Linked DNA regions of Homo sapiens: region 2 is linked to region 1. The links are contacts of gene promoters, found by promoter capture Hi-C in human tissues and cell types (Jung and others, 2019). All regions are on one chromosome and are shown on one strand. The core of a region is centred on a gene start or on the middle of the fragment in contact, and the rest is flanking DNA. Distances in the headings are between cores, read along the strand shown. Region 1 holds the start of ROCK1 (Rho associated coiled-coil containing protein kinase 1). Region 2 holds the start of MIR320C1 (microRNA 320c-1).

Region 1 (4,552 bases), core at 811-3,310:
GAATCCAGAAGGTGGAGGTTGCGGTGAGCCGCGATCGCGACATTGCACACCAGCCTGAGCAACAAGAGTGAAACTCCATCTCAAAACAAAATAAAACAAACAAAACACCAAAAATTAGCTGGGCGTGGTGGCGTGTGCCTGTAATCCCAGCTACTCCGGAGGCTGAGGCGGGAGAATCGCTTGAACCCGGGAGGCAGAGGTTGCAGTGAGCCGAGATCGTGCCACTGCACTCCAGACTGGTAGACAAGAGTGAAACTCCGCCTCGGAGAAAAAAAAAAAAGTTAATTTAGAGTCCATCTATCTTATGGCAGAAGATAACTAGATTTAGAGTCCATCTATCTTATGGCAGAAGATAACTAGTGATGTGTCACAATAATCAGAAGAGCCTTGTAGGTAAGTAAGCTATATATGGACCCCACCTATATTTCTAGTAGATATTTCTAGAAATATATGGACCCCACATATATTTCTAGTAGTTCTGCCAGGTTGGTTATCACTTCCACTTATATTTATCAGTGTCACTCATGTATTGTCTTAACTACTTGTATTTTTTCGTATGTGTCTAAATGGAAAGCAACATAATGTTCACGGTTCTCTGAGAAACAACAAAATTCCTAATACCTAAAAATGGTAATAATAATAAAAAAAAGACAAGCAGGGTTTAGGAAATTTATTTTAGGGCAACTGCCTGATTTATTTTAAGCCCTATGCTTAAAAATAAGTCTAATTCACATGACTTAAAATGCTGGAGCCAAGAAAAGTCGCTGCAAAGGCATTTAATGAAATACCTGGTTTGTCTAGTTGTCTTTGTTATGATTTTTGTATAAACCAAGAACGTCCTATCTTGATATATATAGTGGATTTTATATCTAAATATTTCTTGTATTTAATAAATTGAAAATAGAAATAGACATTTTTTCAAACAGTGTAAGATTTTCCTAACCTCTGACTCACATCGTAAGGCTGGTGGACTGTTCAGATGCTGTACGATGCTTTTTACTCCGATGCTTTTTGGTTCATCTGTAGCATTTTCCATCATGGGGTAAAAGATCCACATTTTCTATTTCTAGTGATCCTTAATTTGGCTTCTGAGCAAAAATAAAGTTTGATGAGGAATAAATTAAGGTAGATTTCCTGCTGAAACCAGTGAAGAACATAACTTTATCAGCGGGGGTGAGTGACAAGTCTTTCACCTTTCCTCACACCACAGTCAACGAAGTAACGGAACTAGGAGAAATGCCCATTATTCTCATGTCCTACATTAGTTCTGATAAAAATCACAATTAAGTTTCACTGAATGTTTTGACATTGAAACGGCAGCATTACACGTCCAGGAGAGAACTACAGTAGGGGTGTTATGAGAACTAACACGAACGACTTAAAAATATTGATTTTTTTCTACGAGATTATTTTCCTTTAAAAAAATTAAATTGAGCTTGACTTCTATTGACTGTATCTTCCGGAGTCAGTATTTTATGGCTCCCCTGACACACACGCCTGGCGTGGGAGGGCTGAGCGCTGCAGCGCTTCGGAACTTTCCCAGTGAATCGTAAATGGGTTCAACGCCGGGGCTCGCGGAGGGCTGTCCATGGAGTACCACTGAAAACCAAACGCCACTGGTGCTCAATGCTGGTACCTGCCGACGAAAAGGCTTCTTGCCTAAAAAAGAACCTATTGCCCCACCCTAACAGCAACAAGGAGAACAAGCACTCTCTCCTCGTCAGAAGTCTCTGGACTGGCTGCAACCCAGAGGAAACAGAGCTGGGGCATCTGCCGGGACAGCGATCAGAAGCAGCCAGAGCTCCGCCTCCGTCCGGACCTCCAAGGCCGCTCCAGAGCCCTGCATGGCTCCTCAGAGCCGGCCAAGGCGAGAACCTTGCCGGCAGCTGCTTACCCGCACTCGGCTCCTCCCAGCGGTCCGCCTTCTCCACCGCCTGCCCGCAAGGCCCCGCCCACCTCACCGCCCCGCCCCACCCCACCCTGCGGAGGCGACAGAGTGCGCGCGCGCGCGCGGGGTCCCGGCTGGTTCCCCTTCCGAGCGTCCGCGCCCCGCATGCGCAGTCTGCCCCGGCGGTCTCCGTTTGTTTGAACAGGAAGGCGGACATATTAGTCCCTCTCAGCCCCCCTCGCCCCACCCCCCAGGCATTCGCCGCCGCGACTCGCCCTTTCCCCGGCTGGGACCGCAGCCCCTCCCAGAAGCTCCCCCATCAGCAGCCGCCGGGACCCAACTATCGTCTTCCTCTTCGCCCGCTCTCCAGCCTTTCCTCTGCTAAGTCTCCATCGGGCATCGACCTCGCCCTGCCCCACCGGACACCGTAGCAGCAGCCCCAGCAGCGACGGGACAAAATGGGAGAGTGAGGCTGTCCTGCGTGGACCAGCTCGTGGCCGAGACTGATCGGTGCGTCGGGCCGGGCCGAGTAGAGCCGGGGACGCGGGGCTAGACCGTCTACAGCGCCTCTGAGCGGAGCGGGCCCGGCCCGTGGCCCGAGCGGCGGCCGCAGCTGGCACAGCTCCTCACCCGCCCTTTGCTTTCGCCTTTCCTCTTCTCCCTCCCTTGTTGCCCGGAGGGAGTCTCCACCCTGCTTCTCTTTCTCTACCCGCTCCTGCCCATCTCGGGACGGGGACCCCTCCATGGCGACGGCGGCCGGGGCCCGCTAGACTGAAGCACCTCGCCGGAGCGACGAGGCTGGTGGCGACGGCGCTGTCGGCTGTCGTGAGGGGCTGCCGGGTGGGATGCGACTTTGGGCGTCCGAGCGGCTGTGGGTCGCTGTTGCCCCCGGCCCGGGGTCTGGAGAGCGGAGGTCCCCTCAGTGAGGGGAAGACGGGGGAACCGGGCGCACCTGGTGACCCTGAGGTTCCGGCTCCTCCGCCCCGCGGCTGCGAACCCACCGCGGAGGAAGTTGGTTGAAATTGCTTTCCGCTGCTGGTGCTGGTAAGAGGGCATTGTCACAGCAGCAGCAACATGTCGACTGGGGACAGTTTTGAGACTCGATTTGAAAAAATGGACAACCTGCTGCGGGATCCCAAATCGGAAGTGAATTCGGATTGTTTGCTGGTGAGTAGCGCTGTTCTCTTTTGCTTGTCTGGGGTTTTGCATGTCTTTCCTTCCTCTTGCATTAGTCTGGTTCGCTGCAAAAGTCTCAGGTGTGCATAATCGTCTTGGAAAATGCTAGATTTCTGTTTCCTGAAGAATCTTGGAGTACCATTAACATCTCATGGTGTGGTCCTATTTGCCATTTGACTGGCTCTGTACTAACTACTCTGAACTTTTAATTCTGACTCAGTTCATGAGTACCCGAAAGATACTTACAAACTGCTATTGCAGGCATCCTATAAAAAGTTATCACGTCAGAGTTACTGCAATGTATACAGTTTGTTGAATGGCGATCGTAGTAATTAATGTTAATCTTTCTGATCCGTTTGACAGTTAAATTGGAAAGACTACTTTGCATTTTTTTTCCTTTTTGCGATTTAGCTCCTAGGGGTTTAGTTTTTAGCCTTGAAAATGATAACGGAGAATTGCTATTGAGGAAGTGATTTTTGAGCCAAAATTTCATAGGTGATTTGAGTTTGAAGGAACTTTTTGCTAAACTATTGTAAAAAACCAAGATAATTGGTCATAGGTAATTACAGTGTTAACTTATTTTATTGTATTATTGGTTACAAAAGTACGTACCATACAGTTATTGTAACTGTCTTTTTGGTGGTGTGGCACTTAACATTGTCACTTGTAAAACATTCTAAAGAGGGTTTTATGACATGAAAAACCACAATCCCATTTTAAAAATAGTTAAGTGGTTGATAATACAGTTATCTGTAAATAATTGGAATTCTTAGGTTTGATACATTTCCTCTGTAAATGTATCAAAGTTGTTCAGAGTTTCTGAACAACTAAGGGTTATATAATATTTCTTGGTCCAAACAAAACCACATAATCTCTAAAATAAGGTTTCAGGGAGCATGTATATGGACAGGATTTCACAATGTCTTCGGTGAAATAATGTTAGATATGCTCAATTTTGGGGATTAAGATTAAGGAAACAAAATAATACCATTCAAAGAAATAATACAATTCAAAAATCGCATCTTGAATCAAAGGAAAATTAATGTAGATTGTTTAAAATTAACGTGCATTTCAGTTACTCTAAATTTCTGTTTATTTGTATTTTTCCACGTGTATGGGTTTTACAACAAGCTTCCCAAAGCTTTCAGAATTGTTGTAAGCATCCCTGACCAGGAAATAAGACTATTGTGGGTTGTTTGAAATGTCTCACCACATTATGGATGCTCTTTATATTGAGAGATAGTAAAGAAGGTTGATGCGTAATAGATTTTAAAACATTTTATTAAACGAGATAAGTGGAAGGAATTAGAATATATCTTGTAGTAAGGATTTCTATAACTTCTAAGAAGTCTGATTTATCTTTTAATATTTATCCAGTTTTCATATATTTTTGATTTTATTTTGCTTTTCGATCTCCTTATTACATGAGTGGTGTTATAGGGAGGGTTTAGTAGCTTTCTTTTTCTTTAAATCATCTTCTGGCCTCTT
Region 2 (4,552 bases), core at 721-3,220, 570 kb before region 1:
AAAAAAAAAGCAAAAACATTTAAATTTGACTTGTATTTAGAATTGTTTTAAAAACACTTGTTGGAGGCCCACGTATGTGCGTAGGAAGAAGTTGGAAATAGTCTACTCTTGGTAGGAAAAATTAACATCACTTCAGTATACAGTTTTCTAATTTGAACCCACATGTGGAATTTAGAGAACTGGAATTTTATTTTAGTGCATTGCATTTAGATGAAATTGCCAAACATTACAACTACAAGACAGATTTTTAAAATCTTTTAGTGCTCTAAATCAGTGTCAGTAAGATGACTTTAATATTATATCATGAGCAAGAATCATGTGTAAAAATAACAAAAATTGCTTTCCTGGTTTTTAGATGTGTGGTTTTTAACAACAGAGGAGTGGCGGGGGAGAATCTCTTGGTAAGTAAATTTAAATGACAACAGTCTTAACTTTTTAAAGAATCATTTCTAGTTTTATAACAAAAAGCATATTCTTTTTATTTAAAATAACTCTGTTTATGTAAGCAATACAAATTTATTATACAAAAATACAGATATGGAAAAAAAGGAAATTTACAAGACCGATAATTGTATAACCAAGGAAATTCCCTTAGTCTGTGTTCATTCAGATTTCATATATAAATAAAATATATATAATATATTTCTATTTTTATAAAAATTAAGATTCTATTTTGTAACTAAACTTTTGTACTTACTACATTTTAACATCGATAGTTATTCACCTACATCATTTTTTTTCTACCCTCTCAACCCAGCTTTTCCTGACTCTGGGAAGAACTGGGAAGAGAAGGCCTCATTTTTAATGCAAAACACATTTTCCTTAAAAATTAACCAGTGCAAAACAAATTAACTAATACAGTGATTTTTTTTCCACTTATGAAATTTACATTTGTCATGAAACAATTTTGTATGTCACATGCCTGTTTGCCAGCTGAAGTTTACATGGTGGGAATGTTATTGAAACCTTTTAAAATTTATATCAGGTCTTTTTTTCCCCCTCTAATTCTGAGTTTTTGCTAGGATAGATCTTTCACCTCTTAGAAAATCACTCTATCTGATCTTTAAATCCGTGAGTTGGAATGAGAAATATTCCACTTGCTAAAATTTTCTTCAGCTTTTTAACTTTTTACAATCTCAACAGGTCAAAGGCAATTCTACTAGAATTGAAAGAAACTTTTTTTGGGTCATTGATAGAGAATGACATTAAGACTATAAATAAGTCATGCTGGAAATAAAAATTTACAATCAGGTCACAAATGTCAACACTTTATAAGAACTTGGGAAGTAAAAACCTCTTGTACTTGGCTTTACAGTGACTTAGGCACTGGAGGAAATGAAGATCAACACGATTTCGAAAGCAAAAGTTGCAGAGTGTTATGGTCTTACTCAAGTGCCTTGTAATAAATAGCTTGACGTGAAGGTTCACGTTTTCTCATTCAATCCAGCCCTTTAGGAATCTCGTAGACAGATAGTACTCTAAAGGGAAAGATTTGAATGTGTCACTGTGGCCCTGGCCCAGGCAAATCATTTTGAGCAGCTCCTGTCTGCTGTGCATTCTTCCAGGACACAAAGCCGGGGGGGAAGACATGGTCTGAGGCTCTCAAGGAAATAATGTGCTGCAAAGCCAAGCTCGTTAGTTCTTTATGAAGTGAGGGACAAAGATCTGTTCATTCAGCAGAGCCGTGGTATGTGCCTGTTAAATCGGGCACTGTGCAAGCCAATAGGGTGAAGATATACATATTAATGAGACACAGCCCTAATCTTTAGGAGCTCAAACTTTAGTTGTGGGAGAGACAGTCAAGTCCATTAAAATATACACAGTGCTAAGTGTTTAACAGTAGCCTTTGTTAAGGCTACAGAGCACAAAGGGAAAGAGTAACAAAGCGCCTGGGGGAGGTGGGAGAGCTTAGAGAGGAGGTAGCGTTCTGAGTTGGATCTTGAAGGCTGTGGTATTGAACCTCCAAAGCGGGGAGAGAGGCTCTCTCAGCGCAAAGACCAAGGTATTATAAAGTGCGTACAGTAGCAGCTACTTACTATGGCTGGATGATGATGATAATTTTATCTAATATTTATGTAATCCGTAGAATGTATCAGTTATGTCTTTTCCTATTTAATCTTCAGAAATAGAAACAGCCCAACAATTTAGGTAAGTATAGCCCCCATTATCCCTCATTTCCTTTTGGAGACAGGGTCTTGCCCTGTTGCCCAGGCTGGAGTGCAGTGGCACAATCATGGCTCACTGTAGCCTCGACCGCCTGGGCTCAAGTGATCCTTCCACCTCAGCTTCCCAAGTAGGTGGAACCAGAGGTGTGTGCCACCATGCCTGGCTGATTTTTTATTTATTTATTTGTTTGTTTTGTAGAGATGGGGTCTCACTCTGTTGCCCAGGCTGCTCTTAAACTCCTGGGCTCAAGCGATGCTCCCAAAGTGCTGAGATTCCAGGTGTGAGCCACTGCACCTGGCCCCTGTCCTGCATTTTACAGATGAAGAAAACAAGACACTGGTAGGTTAGGAACTTACCCCTCCCAACAAATGACAGAGCCAGGATTCAGACCCAGGTGATCTATGTGCTTATGTTTTTGACCATTATGTTTTATGCTTTCTTACTTTTCTGGAAGTGACAGGAATTTGCTAGAAGGGTAGGGCCAGAATCACATGTAGACTCCTAAGAACCTGGTATTGAATCATTGATATTTTGAAGCAAGGGCATAATTTGATCATGGTCATGTTTTAGAAAGAGAACCATGGCAGTGGTGTGTAGGAAAGAAAGAGATGGAGGGGAAGGAGGCTGGAGGCTGGAGGCTGGGAGGCCAGTTAGAAAGCAGTTACTACAGACCTACATGGAGTTTGGAGTTTGAAAGCAGACGGAGGGGGAATAAAGACGAGAGAACAAAAATGAGTAGTATTCAAGGGGAAGAAAATAGTATTAGTCGTATTGTGGGAAGTAAAGACAAGGGAGTCTAGGGTAATGTTTCTAGCTTGGCTGGCTGATGGAAGATGCTGCTATTTGCTGAAATAGGAAATTTAGAAGAATTTGTGAGATTATGATGTAACAAAGATAACAGATTCCATTTTAGATGTTTAGGGTGCTTTTAGATAATCCCGGTGGAAATTTTCAGTAAGTTTTTGGATGTACTGGACTGGCCTTCAGGAGAAATAGGCAAGCAAGAGAGAGACAGACTGAGATTATCAGTGTGCAGGTAGAAGTTGAAGCTCAGGAGTAGCTGAGATTAGTTAGGGCACGTGTAGAGTGAAAGGGGAGATTGGTGGTTAGAAGCTTAAGAAACAACAGGCTGGGAGTGGTGGTTCACACCTGCAATCCCAACACTTTGGGAGGCCCAGGTGGGAGGATCACTTGAGCCCAGAAGTTGAAGACCAGCCTGGGCAACATATGGAAACCCTGTCTCAAATATATATGTGTGTGTGTATATATATATACACACACACACACACACACACACACACATTTGAAAAAGAAAAAAAGAAACAACAAATAGGAAGGAGGAGAGAAAAAGAGGAGAAGGATACTTTAAAAACATACTCTCCTTAGTATTTAAAGTTAAATTAGAAATTTGCTTTGAAATAGTACAGCAACCCAGTAATTTTCAGCCCATAAGCTTTAATTGTATTTTTGAAAAACCTCCAGGAAGAATTCACTGAGTTCTAAGTAACGTAAGAGTAGCTGGGTCTCTGGAGTCTTACACAGTGTGTCAGTTAAATTTTGATTAACTAGTACCCCCCAGCAAATATGTGTCTCAAAATAGCTAATAACACACTAAGCTGTTAGAGTTACAGTCTGGCAGGCAGCTTGGGTTTATGTAGCAGAAAGTACCTCGGACTCAGAAGTCCCAAGTTCAAGTTCGGTTGTCACCACTAACCAGCTATAAGTGATAAAGTACAAGTCAAATAACCTTTCTGTTTCTCTTTTTCTTAACTGAATATGATAATGTGTACTTGCCACCTCACAAGGATGTTTCAAGTTCACATGAAATAATAAACATGAGACTGGGCACGGTGACTCACACCTGTAATCCCAACACTTTGGGAGGCTGAGGCGGGTGCATCACTTGAGGCCAGGAGTTCGAGATCAACGTGGCCAATATGGTGAAACCCTGTCTCTACTAAAAATACAAAAAAATTAGCCAGGTGTAGTGACACATACCTTTAGTCCCAGCTACTTAGGAGGCTGAGGCAGGAGAATCATTTGAACCCAGGAGGTGGAGGTTGCAGTGAGCCAAGATGGCATCACTGCACTCCAGCCTGGACGACAGAGCAAGACTCCATCTCAAAAACAAACAAAAAGAAATAATAAACTTGAAATATCTTGTAAGATAAAGCTTTTTAGGGCCAGGCACAGTGGCTCATGCCTGTAATCCCAGCACTTTGGGAGGCTGAGGCAGGCACATAACTTGAGCCCAGGAGTTCAAGACCAGCCTGGCCAACATGGCGAAACCCCATCTCTATTAAATTAAAAAATAATAAAAAATAAAAATAGGCCAGGCGCGGTGGCTCAAGCCTGTAATTCCAGCACTTTGGGAGGCTGAGGTGCG

What was found. Contacts are between HindIII fragments. The study calls those that stand out against the background at their distance.
Region 2: a fragment that was not itself captured here is called in contact with the fragment with the promoter of ROCK1 in region 1 in 1 of the 25 tissues and cell types used here (dorsolateral prefrontal cortex).

Annotation. Positions count from the first base shown.
Region 1 is chr18:21,109,321-21,113,872 of GRCh38, reverse strand. It overlaps ROCK1 (Rho associated coiled-coil containing protein kinase 1), which reads left to right and starts at 2,060. Exons shown (of 33, transcript NM_005406.3): 1 at 2,060-3,055. The coding sequence starts at 2,963. RefSeq lists enhancers at 1,462-1,521, 1,552-1,771, 1,871-2,165, 1,819-2,407 and a silencer at 1,812-2,201. The HindIII fragment of the contact is 9,004 bases long and covers 1-4,552 here.
Region 2 is chr18:21,679,769-21,684,320 of GRCh38, reverse strand. It overlaps ABHD3 (abhydrolase domain containing 3, phospholipase), which reads left to right. Exons shown (of 9, transcript NM_138340.5): 4 at 356-401. It overlaps MIR320C1 (microRNA 320c-1), which reads right to left and starts at 803; the gene lies at 732-803. The HindIII fragment of the contact is 7,816 bases long and covers 1-4,552 here.